Regions from separate parts of the Homo sapiens genome. Here all the other regions are linked to region 3. The links are contacts of gene promoters, found by promoter capture Hi-C in human tissues and cell types (Jung and others, 2019). All regions are on one chromosome and are shown on one strand. Each heading gives the region's core, a stretch centred on a gene start or on the middle of the fragment in contact. The rest is flanking DNA. Distances are from core to core; before and after follow the strand shown.

Evidence for each region. The method cuts DNA at HindIII sites, captures the fragments that hold promoters and counts their contacts. A contact is called where the count stands out against the background at its distance.
Region 1: a contact is called between a fragment that was not itself captured here and the fragment with the promoter of MPPED1 in region 3, in 3 of the 25 tissues and cell types used here (H1 embryonic stem cells, IMR-90 fibroblasts and dorsolateral prefrontal cortex).
Region 2: a contact is called between a fragment that was not itself captured here and the fragment with the promoter of MPPED1 in region 3, in 3 of the 25 tissues and cell types used here (dorsolateral prefrontal cortex, lymphoblastoid cells and spleen).
Region 4: a fragment that was not itself captured here is called in contact with the fragment with the promoter of MPPED1 in region 3 in 2 of the 25 tissues and cell types used here (liver and mesendoderm cells).

Annotation. Positions count from the first base shown.
Region 1 is chr22:43,567,511-43,570,210 of GRCh38, reverse strand. The region is part of intron 26 of EFCAB6 (EF-hand calcium binding domain 6); the gene reads left to right. Among named protein-coding and RNA genes, the nearest start is that of EFCAB6-AS1, 53 kb to the right of the region's middle. The HindIII fragment of the contact is 4,174 bases long and covers 1-2,700 here.
Region 2 is chr22:43,543,433-43,546,132 of GRCh38, reverse strand. All of the region lies in intron 27 of EFCAB6 (EF-hand calcium binding domain 6), which reads left to right. Among named protein-coding and RNA genes, the nearest start is that of EFCAB6-AS1, 29 kb to the right of the region's middle. RefSeq lists enhancers at 1,915-2,692, 2,693-2,700. The HindIII fragment of the contact is 3,458 bases long and covers 1-2,700 here.
Region 3 is chr22:43,410,572-43,413,271 of GRCh38, reverse strand. It overlaps MPPED1 (metallophosphoesterase domain containing 1), which reads right to left and starts at 1,258. Exons shown (of 7, transcript NM_001044370.2): 1 at 1,114-1,258. The HindIII fragment of the contact is 18,974 bases long and covers 1-2,700 here.
Region 4 is chr22:43,276,365-43,279,064 of GRCh38, reverse strand. The region is part of intron 4 of SCUBE1 (signal peptide, CUB domain and EGF like domain containing 1); the gene reads left to right. The region is part of intron 1 of SCUBE1-AS1 (SCUBE1 antisense RNA 1); the gene reads right to left. Among named protein-coding and RNA genes, the nearest start is that of SCUBE1-AS1, 1.8 kb to the right of the region's middle. RefSeq lists an enhancer at 845-1,345. The HindIII fragment of the contact is 5,790 bases long and covers 1-2,700 here.

The DNA.
Region 1 (2,700 bases), core at 158-2,657, 160 kb before region 3:
ATCTTTCCTCACTTTGCGTGGAAATATACAATCTCTAAAGTCATTCAGTTATATGTTAAATAACTTGAAGATGTTTTTTGTTCCAAGAGAGAAGTGAAGAATGTAGTTTTCAACCAAAGGGATGGTAAAGTACATCAAAATGTTTGTAATCTTTTATGAACATCATATTTATATTCGCTGCCAACAGTGTTACTTCAATTTATCTTTCTTTTTATTGTAAATATAATGGTGTCTACGTATTTTCAATGAATATGGTAAAGAATGGGGAAGTTTCCTTTTCAGGAAAGGGCTCTAAGATAATTGTAAATAAATTAAGTAAATTATTAAGATATTAGCATTACTGTTATTTACCCTTGCTCTTGATGGCAAGAAAAGCTAAGTCTTCTTGATGTAATTTCAGCGATTTTAACTATTTCCCTTGAATTTCACTCACTCTCTACTTGCCAATGCAAAATTCACTACCTGCCATCCTGTAGGTGGGTGGCACTGTGGCAAGTCTTGAGGGGTAACTCAGGCTGACTTGGACTCTCAGGGGGGCCTTGGAGACAGGCCAGGGTGCAGGGGCTGCTAGGCCCCCTGTGCCACGCTAAGGCAGAAGGAGTATTATCGCAGGCCACCCAGCAGGGCCTACAGGCATCATCACGTGGTGGTTCAGTGGGAACCAGGCAGACTCCATGCATCCACTTCTCCTCCTCAGGCTTTGAGCTTGGTAAGCTTGCTGCCCTCCTGGGGGAAGCCCAGGCACCTTGGCATGGGTGGTGTCTGCTTCCTGTAGAGCATCTGTGACTACACGGGTCCTAGCACTGCCCCAGTATCTGCACTAATATGGATCACCTCCTTAAAGCCAGCTGTAGTGATAAAAGCAACAGAATGAAAGTCACATCATCATGGAAAGTTGGCAAGGAGGTTGCACAGGCTGCTGAGATTCACTCTCACTTAGCGTGCTACAGAGTTATTCTTTTGTTGTTCAAACTTTCTCCCAAGTCCCGATTGGCTGTGGCGACACTGCAGCTCCTTCCATGCATGTGTCCTGGGTCCGGCCTGGCTCTGAAGCCTCCCTTTAGAAAGGAGTATGAGTCCCCCTCCAACCCCGGTTCCCAGTAGCATGGACAGGGTAGGCACTCGGCATGTGCCAGGCAAGCTCTGCCGGAAGTAGCACAGGGCCGGCCGCCAAAGGGAGGGAGGCACAGTTTCTGATGCCTCTTGCAGGAATGTGAGGGGGCCACACCAGGCTTTCCCCACCTGGGCCCTGTGAAGGGTGGTCACATGGGCCCCCTTCCCCACTGGAGAAGCCCCCTTTCAAACACAGCTGTGTCAGGCAGAAGACAAGGCTATCATGAACCTGTTGGTGAAGTTGGAAGAAGCACATCAGACAGAATTTCTCGTAATCGTTTTAATTTGTGTGGTTGAATTTTCTCAAACCTGGGAGTCCCATGTCCCCAAGGGCAGGGATGAGGTCTCATTCTCCCTTGTGCCCCAGCCCTATGCAGCACACCCCATGGCAGGACCTCAGCCAGGCCCCATGGAAATGCATGGTGCGGGGGACACTGCTCACCTCCTCCAGCACCTGCCTTGTGTTAATCACCACTCCGGCATCCTCAGAGCACTCCCGCCTCATTCCCCTGAACCCGGATCAGGATTCTTCTTGATTCCTAGCCTCCACGGGAAGCCCTCTATATATTCAAACTAAATGGACAACGGTGCAACCAGCCCAGGCAGGCTCCCCATTCATTTGGTCCCTCCAGAGCCACGACAACCATTTGTGGATCAATTAAGCATCAGAGTTGAGTCGCACCAGTGATTCTATGAGGTCATGATCCTATCAAGAAGCCAGGTACCAATCCAAGAACGTATTGTCCCAAATAAGTCTTGCAGAGAAAATCCAAAATACAGATGTTACCAGCATCTTAACTGTCATCACACACCCAGGAAGGTAACTTATAGTGTGGCTGCTTATGTTCTGGCTCAGGATGCTGCACTGGACTGGACGAATCTCAACACTCAACACTCAGCAAGTGAGAATGAGAATGTGTGCCTGGCTCTGGGCCAGGCCCTGGGGTTCAGGCTTGTGGTGGGGACAATGAGCCTCATTTGCAGAGGAGGAAACTGGGTGGGCGTCTCAAAACATGAGCTTCTTCAGGAGTGGGGGTTTTGGCTCACTGCTCTGTTGCTCCTGCCTGTGAGTGTGCCTGGCACATCATGGGCCCTGGTCAGTGTTGCTGAGTTGGGATTTTCAGGAGGCTTCTGTGTTCTTGCACATGTGGTAGGTGGTTGGACTTCGGTGAAATCGGAGGAGCATGGCTTCGGAGTCAAACAGTCTCCATTTCCAGCACCGGCTGGCAGGAGCTTGGAACTGAGCCCTACTTACTTTGTCTGTACAGCAGGGAGAGCTGTGGCTGCCTCGCATGGTGATGTGAGGACCAGAGAAGATTCCCTGTTGCCCAGCTCAGTGCCTGGGTAAAGGAGACGCAGGAAGGAAGGCCACTGGTACTCTGGGGTACCAGAGGGGGAAACAGAGAGGTAGAAACATTCTTTCCCAGTCACACCATTAGAAATGCTAGTGCTAGGATTCGAATGCCAGCCAGTTCCAAGGTCCATGCTCCCCGCTCCCTTCCTGAGCAATGAGAACTGTTTGGTGTGTGCCTCCTAGGCTCATTGTTCGGATTAAGCAAGTGAATGTAGAAAGAGCTTTGCCTGGTA
Region 2 (2,700 bases), core at 195-2,694, 130 kb before region 3:
ACCAGTGTTTACTCCTTTAGCTATTTTATACATTGCCTTTCATTCATTTTAATACACATGTCTACTTTAACTATTTCACATATAATCTTGTTATATTCTCTAGCTAATATCAAATATCTGAAGTCTAAATCTGTCTTAGCTTGTTTTTGCCAACTCATGTTTATGGTGACTTGCCTCTTCATGTGTTTAGTGATTTTTATTTCATGAAAGAGCTTATATTTGGCTGAATTTAATCTGGGGGAAATCCTGAGGGGCCTGGACTGAGTATGATTGTCTACGAAGATGATTAGGGTTTGCTTCTTCCAAGTGCCAAAGATGCTGCCAGCCCGACGCTGCTTCGGTTCCTCCACCTTGGGGTCCCATGATGGAGAAACCAAAATGGTTTCACAGACTCCAGGCCATGAGCTCCAGGTCTGTGCCCAGCCCGGAGCTCAGAGCCATGCAGGTTTTCCTCACCCAGCCTTGCACTGAAGATACAGCCCATCAGGTAACCTGGCTCATTATGCCAGGATCTCCAGGCCTGTGCCTCAGTCTCCCAACCCCTGAGCACCATCAATCCGCAAAACTTTGGCCTCCCAGGATTAGCTTTTGCAAGCTGGCTTTCAGGTTTTTGTTCACCCGTCTTTGGGGTTAGCAGCTTTCCTTGGCCCTTAATGATTCGCTGTACTTCCTTGTGAACTTTGCAATGAATTTAAATATATGTTTTTAAAAATATGTATCCATCAACTGGGTGTTTTGTGAACGGAGGCTTATTAGAATGTCTAGGCTGCCATAATGCCTAGGATCTCTTTAAACTGTAAACTATTTAGAAGTGATAGTTTCATTTTCCAGACATAGGATCTTTTATGATCAGGTTCTATTTGTATTGTATTGTGGCCAGAAAGCATGAAACCTGGCCACTGAAAAAGACACCATTGAAAAAGACATAATCATGTCTGTTTTCATGTCTGAATTCAGACATGATCTGAATAGCTTTTTTTTCTTTTGAGATGGAGTCTCACTCTGTTGCCCAAGCTAGAGCACAGTGGTGCGATCTCGGCTCACTGCAAGCTCCACCTCCTGGGTTCACGCCATTCTCCTGCCTCAGCCTCCTGAGTATCTGGGACTACAGGCGCCCGCCACCACGCCCGGCTAATTTTTTTTTTCTTTTTTATTTTATTTTTTCTGTATTTTTAGTAGAGACGGGGTTTCACCATGTTGACCAGGATGGTCTCGATCTCCTGACCTCGTGATCTGCCTGCCTCGGCCTCCCAAAGTGCTGGGATTACAGGTGTGACCCACTGCACCCAGCACTGAATATCTTTTTTATCTGATTTATCTGGAGACTATTTTGTTGCTTTGAGTATTGTTCAGGGTTCTTAGTTGCAGATTGCAGGATCCACACAGGCAAGTTTTAGCAGAAAGAGGTTTTTTTTTTGAAGGGTATTAGGATCTTACAGAAGCTCTGGAAGGGCTGGAGAACCAGAAAGGATGTCCCCACGTCCAAGAACGTGGCAGCCAAGAGAAACCCAACCCCACCAGGAGGCTTTTCCAGAAGAAACCCACTGCCACTGCCTCCCAGCAGAGCTCAGCACTGTGGTGCTAAGGGGATGGGACCAAACCCCTCTGCCACCAAACAGACCAGAAGAGCTGATCACCACCTGGGCTAATTCCTTCCTTCCACCTTGCAGGCAGTTGTGTCTGTTGTGTCTGCTACAGAGAAAAATGGGCACAGTACCTTCTAGCTGCCCAGCCTCTGTAGTTCAAGAAGGCAGACCACATCCAGAGACACGAGGAGGGGTGGCCTGGATAGGAGCCGAGACTTCCTCCTGTAGCTGTGGGGTGGGAGCATAGGTGCAGTCAATTTGATATAATGTATATTTTCTCTATGAAGTATGGGGTAAGATTATCAGCTGAGAGTGAGGGGACCATAGTGGATATTTAAGAAGAGGAAATGGTGCAGAGGGGTTGCCACAGAGAGCAGCAAGGGACATTTACTGGGGAAGAGTTGTGGGCGTGTCTGGCAGTTACAGCAGGAGCTTCCCCAGTAAGCTCAGGGGGAGGCTGGGGAGGGAGGAGTGGAGTGAAGAAGTAGTTGTGTGGGTTCCAAGCTTTGTTCAGGAGGGAGGTGAGGGCTGGGCAGGATGAAGGATAGGGTAAAACAGAGTGGTGGGTGGACGTAGAGCTGGTCTCAAGGAGGAGGGGTGAAGACACAGAGGTGAAGGTTGGAGAGAGAAATGTCTAGAACTAGGAGAGGCCAGAAGAGAGGCCTGTGGACTTGGTGCGGGACTGGGGCTGCCGGAGGGTCTTCTCAGCATTCCTGCGCCACCCTCGGCTCACATCAGTGCCTGAGAGGGGTCCCTTTCCCTCTCTTGCTGCCTTTGCTGGTGCTGGGCTCCTGACGGGGTGGAGGCATCCTGGGCCTCGGGTGAAGCTTTCTCACTGCTCCGGCCCCATCCAGCCCCTCCAGGGCAGCCCTCTCTGCCTCCTGTCTCTGGCGGCTATTGGGCTCATCCCCTCAGACCTCTGCTTTGTAGAGGAGCAGACCTTGGGCCCAAGGGGTCGCTGCCCATTCTGCAAGGATGTCGATCCTTCCCCTCCCCCAGAGCCTGGGTGAGGTTCCCAGTGGAGGAAGGAGGGGTTCTTACCCCTGTCCTAGAGGCAGAGAGTTGAGTGGGTTTCCCCAGCAGCTTAAGGCTTCTGCATCCTATCGGGGGGTCT
Region 3 (2,700 bases), core at 9-2,508:
AGCCAGCTCCGCCATTCAACAGCCAGCCCACTTTTGTTCCCCCAGTTTAATTTCATAATTGTTTGCCACTTAACAAGCTCTCCTCTGGGCCATTCAATAGAGCAGGGGAAATGGGGAGGGGGAAGGCAAAGAAACTCTGGGAGGGGAGCTGGGAGCCAGGCCAGCCCAGCACTGGGGAAGAGACATCCCAGAGAGGTCAGCTGGACAGGGGTGGGGGCCAGTTCCGGAGTGGAGCCTCCTGACACCAACTGGGCCACCCAGCTTGAGCCCGGAGAGGTGGGAGGGAAAGGAGCAGGGTGAGTTCCGAAGGCCAGGCCGGGGCCTGCCAGACTCCTGGGCACATCAGTGCTCTGAATGACACGCCTCTGGCCCTGCCAGGGTGAAGGGAGACAGCATGAATTCACGCTCCCGTAACATGTCCCAGAACAAACACACAGGAGACAGAACTGCTCCTTAGTTTGGGCATTCCATGATCAACATTCCCTTTGAGGGCTGGGACCTGTCTAGGTAGCCACTGAATCCCCTGGCCGAGCACATAGCAGACAGGAATAAATATGTGTTGAGTGAGTGGATGGATGGATGGATGGATGGATGGATGGATGGGAGGGAGGGATGAATGGATGGAAGGAAATGGATGAAGTTTCCAGCAATACCTAGCAAAAGTGGCCACTCGGCCAGCGTTCGTTCCCTATCTCTTCCCCCCCAAGTGCCAGCAGGGGCTTGGCAGCGCACACAGTAGGCTCTCTACAAGCGGGGGCTGCTATTGTTACCACTATCATCATCACTGGCACTCCACCAGCCCGCTGCTTCCACCAGCTACTCCGCCAGCAGCAGCAGCGACTGGCGAGCAAGGGAAAAGTTTCGCTGACCCCGCGGCCCCAGCCGGAGTCCCGCGCCCTGGCGGAGCCCCCTCCCGCCGCCGCCCGCTAGGCAGGCGGGGCAGCTGGGGTGCCCAGCCCGCTTCCCGCACCCGGCAAAGGCGGCCAAAGTAACTTTGCGGGCGCCCCTGCGCAGCGCCGCGGGCGTCGCCCAGCGCCTGGAGAGGGTCCCGGCCGCGCCCCGCGCCCGGCCTCCCGCCCGCGCCCGCCGCGCCCCGCCCGCCTCCGGTCCTACCTGGCCCCGGGCTCCTCTTCGGCGGCCGCGGCGGCTGCGAGCAGCAGCGCGCACCGAGGGAGGCAGGGGCTCCCGGGAGGGAGGCGCGCAGGGGCGGGGGCTCCTCCGGCGGCGGCCGCCTCGCCGCGCGTCCGAGGCTGCAAGTGGGAGCCAGACTCCTCCTTCGTGGGGCGGGGGGCTCCCCGCGCCCCCTCCGCCGCCCGCCCGCGCGCCGCGAGGCTCCGAGCCTCCTTGGCTCCCCCCGCCCGCCGCCGCCCGCCTCCCCACGCCCGCCCTCCCCGCCTCTCCGCGCCCGGCCGCCGGGAGGGGCGCGCTCGCGGCCTCGGTCCCGGCCCTTGCGCCGCCACCCGCCGGGGCCCCCGCCAGGCCCGCCAGGCCTCGGCCCTCGGCCCCCGCCCGGGCTCGGAGTCCGCATCCCGCTGCGGAGGGACAGGGAGCGCGGCCGCGGGCCTGGACGCGGGAGGAGGAGCGGGGCCCGCGCTGCGGAAAAGGGAGGGGGCCGCCCCACTGCGCCCGGCGCCCCTCTTGGCGCCCGCCCCCAGCCCCGGACCGGGCCGCGCGCGGGCTGGGCAGGGAGCGGGGCGGGGGCGCTCTCACCTCCGGATCCGTGGCCTCCGCAGCGGGCACCGCGTGCAGGGGCGTGCGCGGCTCCTTCCGGGGCGCCGCAGCCTTCGCCCGAGGCCCGGACCCCCTCCTGGGGCCGCCGGGGCACCCTGCTGTGGGCCCCTCCCGCCCGGGGTCTGGAAGGTCCCCCTCCGGAGACGGAGACACTCTGACCCCAGCTCCCAGTCTGAATAGGTCGGGGTCCTCCTCCTGGGCCACCATCTCTTCCACTCGGGAGTCACAGGTCCCCAATCCCGGGCACAGCAGGTAGCCTGCAGCGGCCGGAGCCCCAACGGGATGGGTAAACAAGTCAGGAACTCAGACGGCGCGACACCCAGTGTAAAGAGGCCCTGCCTTGCTGGGAAGAGCAGAGACCATCGCCTTCAGTGTCGGGGGTCACCCTGGGGAGTTTAAGGCCCTGTGGCTTCCAGCCCCTTGCCGCGGGTGGGACGGGGATTCCAGGGCCTTGTATAGTTAGGGTGCAGATCACTCTGGCCTGGGCCTCCCAGACTGAGAGGAAGATGAAAAGGGGCTGTGGCTCCTCAGAGGCCCAAAGCCCCTCAACAAATGCTTGTAGGGTCTCCCTTCACCAACACACACATCACACAATCCCCAAGGACACCCTCTGCGGGCCCCTCAGGCCTATTCTGCCCCTGAGGACTGCTATCTGGTGTGGCTTCCTGGAGGTGGGGACAGCCCAGTTGAATGAGTGTATGCCAGGAGAGAAGGCCTGGAAAAGACATCCAGGCCGAGGGAATGCGGCATGCAAAGGCCTTGGCATGTGAGTTCATTGGGGCTAGAGACAAAGGAAAAGCAAGGGAGGGAAGATGAGGTGGCAAGGCTGGGAGTGAGGGAACAGAAGCCAGATCGGGAAGAGCCTTGGATAGACTTTATCAGGGGCAGTGGGAGCCATAGAGGGTTTTTAAGCAGGGCTGTGACTTGGTCACGTTTATCTTTTTACAGCTTGTTCTGGCACCTCTAAAG
Region 4 (2,700 bases), core at 159-2,658, 130 kb after region 3:
TTCCAGGCTGGTCCTCGAGCTTCCTCTTGACTCTGTCTTCCACTCTGCCTCTCCCACTCTGGCTTGTCTGTGGCCTGCAGGCTGACTGGACACTGTCCTTCCCCCAAACCTGTCTCAGCCCACAGGTGTCCTCAGGAGGCCCAGCCCCACCCTCCCGCAGCTCAGGTGTCCTCGACAGGCCCAGCTCCACCCTCCTGGAGCTTTGCTGTGGTTTCCATACAGGGTCGCCTGATGCTCACAGCCACCCTGTGACATGCTTTGGATAAGTACTAATGTCCCCATCATGGGAGGGAAAACTGAGCTTCCCTGAGCTGCACTGGGGGGGCAGGACTTCAGGATCAGGGGCTGGATTCTGAGGCCAATGTCAGTTCTTTTTGCCCTGCACCATCCACTTGCAGACTCAAAGAAACAAGCCAATGGACAGAGACCCATGGGCCCTCCTGAGCCACCTCAGCCACATATTGATAGGATCCTATCAGTGTGCCTAGCTGTCAGGTTCCTATTGGCTCCTGGGACGGGATTCCTATAGGATCTGGGCCAGGCCTTGACCTGAGGGGCCCTAGCACGGCTCCTGCAGGGCCAGAGACATCCCCTGCCCTGTTCCAGGGCTTTCCATTATCAACTGTGAGTGCTGGGGCAGCACGGCTAGGAACTTCCTGTTTAAAGAGAGGGTGTGGCCATGCCTCCGAATCCCATCCCAGCCTCAGCACCTGCCTTCTTCAGCCACTCCTTGGAGAAGATCAGCCAGGCAAGGGCGCCAGGCAGGACATGTGGGGTTGCAGGTTCTCCTCGCTCCCTTGCCTGCTGCAGACCAGGTGGACAGGAGAATAAACAGCTCCCTTGCTTACTGGAGAGATTTATGGTGCTACCGGAGGAGGCCTGTCCTGGCCCTGTGCGGTCCGGAATGGCCCTCAAGGTGGGGACAATAAATCCAGCCCATTATTTTTTATGAGCCTCCCACTCCATAAACAACTCTTTCGGCTGGTAAGCCCAGCTTCACGCCCCTCTCCTGGCCTGGCCTTGAGCCGGCGCCAGGGGCACCCCCAGTACTGACTTCACATCAGTGGTATAAATTTCCCCTAAGCTGCAGAACTTTCAAATCTCCCAGAGTTGTGGGTGCAGGGCAGGGAGAGCTGCAACCCAGAGGGCTAGGCCAACAGGTAGCTTGCCCAGCCCTGGCGTCCTTCTCTGCCACAAGTCCTGGGGCAAACATTCATATATTTTATGACAGAATTGTTTACGAGAATTAAAATGAGATCGTATATACAAGACATCGCCTCATGTAGAGCCCGGTCCAGATCACTAGAACTGTGCAAAGCTGTCATACGCATCATAGCTGAGCATAGTGCATAGACTCTGACACGAGTCATCAGATCCTGAGAACAGTCTGTGTCATGTAGCTACCCCATTTTGCAGGTGAGCAAATGGAGGCTGAAAAGCAAAGAGACTTGTCCGTAGTGAAGAAGTAGCAAAGCCAAGATTTGCACCCAGGCCCAACCGCCTCCTAAGATCAAAGACACTTGATGAACCAATGGATGGGGGGCCAGGGGCAGGGGTGCTGTGCAGCCCAGATGCCCTGTGACACAAGGAGCCCCTGTCTCGCCATGCTGCCCTCTGCCTAGGGCTGCGCTGCCGTCTTTTGCCTGAGTTAGTGCGGCAGCTGCCTCACAGGCCTCCCTGCCCCGCAAGCCTTCTGGTAGCAGCCAGAACCACTGCTCTGCCCAACCCTCTGGCTCTGTCATTCCCCACTCAAGACCTTCCCATGGCTCCTGAGAGGAATGTGGTTCTCTGCAGCCTGTCCTTGCTTGGCATGTCATGAACCAGCCATAGTGAACTTCTCATCCCGGCCTCTGCCCACACAGCTCCCTCTGTCTGGAACTCCCGCTCATCCTGACTGACCATCGCTCACTGAGAACCCTCTACACCTTTTCCCCGCACACCTCCTGATCCCCCAGGTGGAACCTACGCATCCCTGCCTCTGTCTCATTCGGCCTCCACCCTCAGCCTCCCTGCCCTGTCTCTCATGTCTCTGCTCCCGGGCCTTTCTCCCCCAAGTGAGGATATGCCCTTGGACACAAGGACCCGCTGGCCCCCCAGTGTCCAGCCTGGGGTCTGTAGGGAGCAGGCAGTCAGGAAAAGCTGAGGCGAGGTCATGGAGTTGACGTGCGTGAGAACCGAAAGCATGCTGCCCTGGAGGGAAGCTGGCCTGCACGCCTGTTCTAGAGTGAAGTAGCAGAGGCCCTGGAAACACCATGTGTCCTGTCAGAGGTCACTTAGCATGTTGGGGGCAGAGCTGGAACTTGTCCCAGGCCCCTAGGCTCCAGACCAGTGCCCACCCCCTACACCGTAGCCCACAGCCTGGCTTCCCACCTGGGGTTTGTGGGCACAGGCCCTACGCATGGAAAGTCATGCAGATCTGGAGTGTGGGTTCGGAAACCACCGGGCAGATGCCTGGTTGGCAGAGTGGGGAAGCAGCCGAGGTCATCCTGGGTCATTAGGGAGTGGTGTGAGCCCTCCCTAGCCTCATTAGGGAAATTGGGTTGTGACTGTGGCCACAAGGCCAATCTCCTGGTGGGACGTCTGCCTGGCCACCCCTGGCCGCAGCATTCCCCAGGTCCTCGTCACCCGCCTGAGGCCAGCCAGGTGGGTTTTTGTCTCCCGGCCTGGTGGCTGCTTGATTATGTCACCAGACTCTTTCAG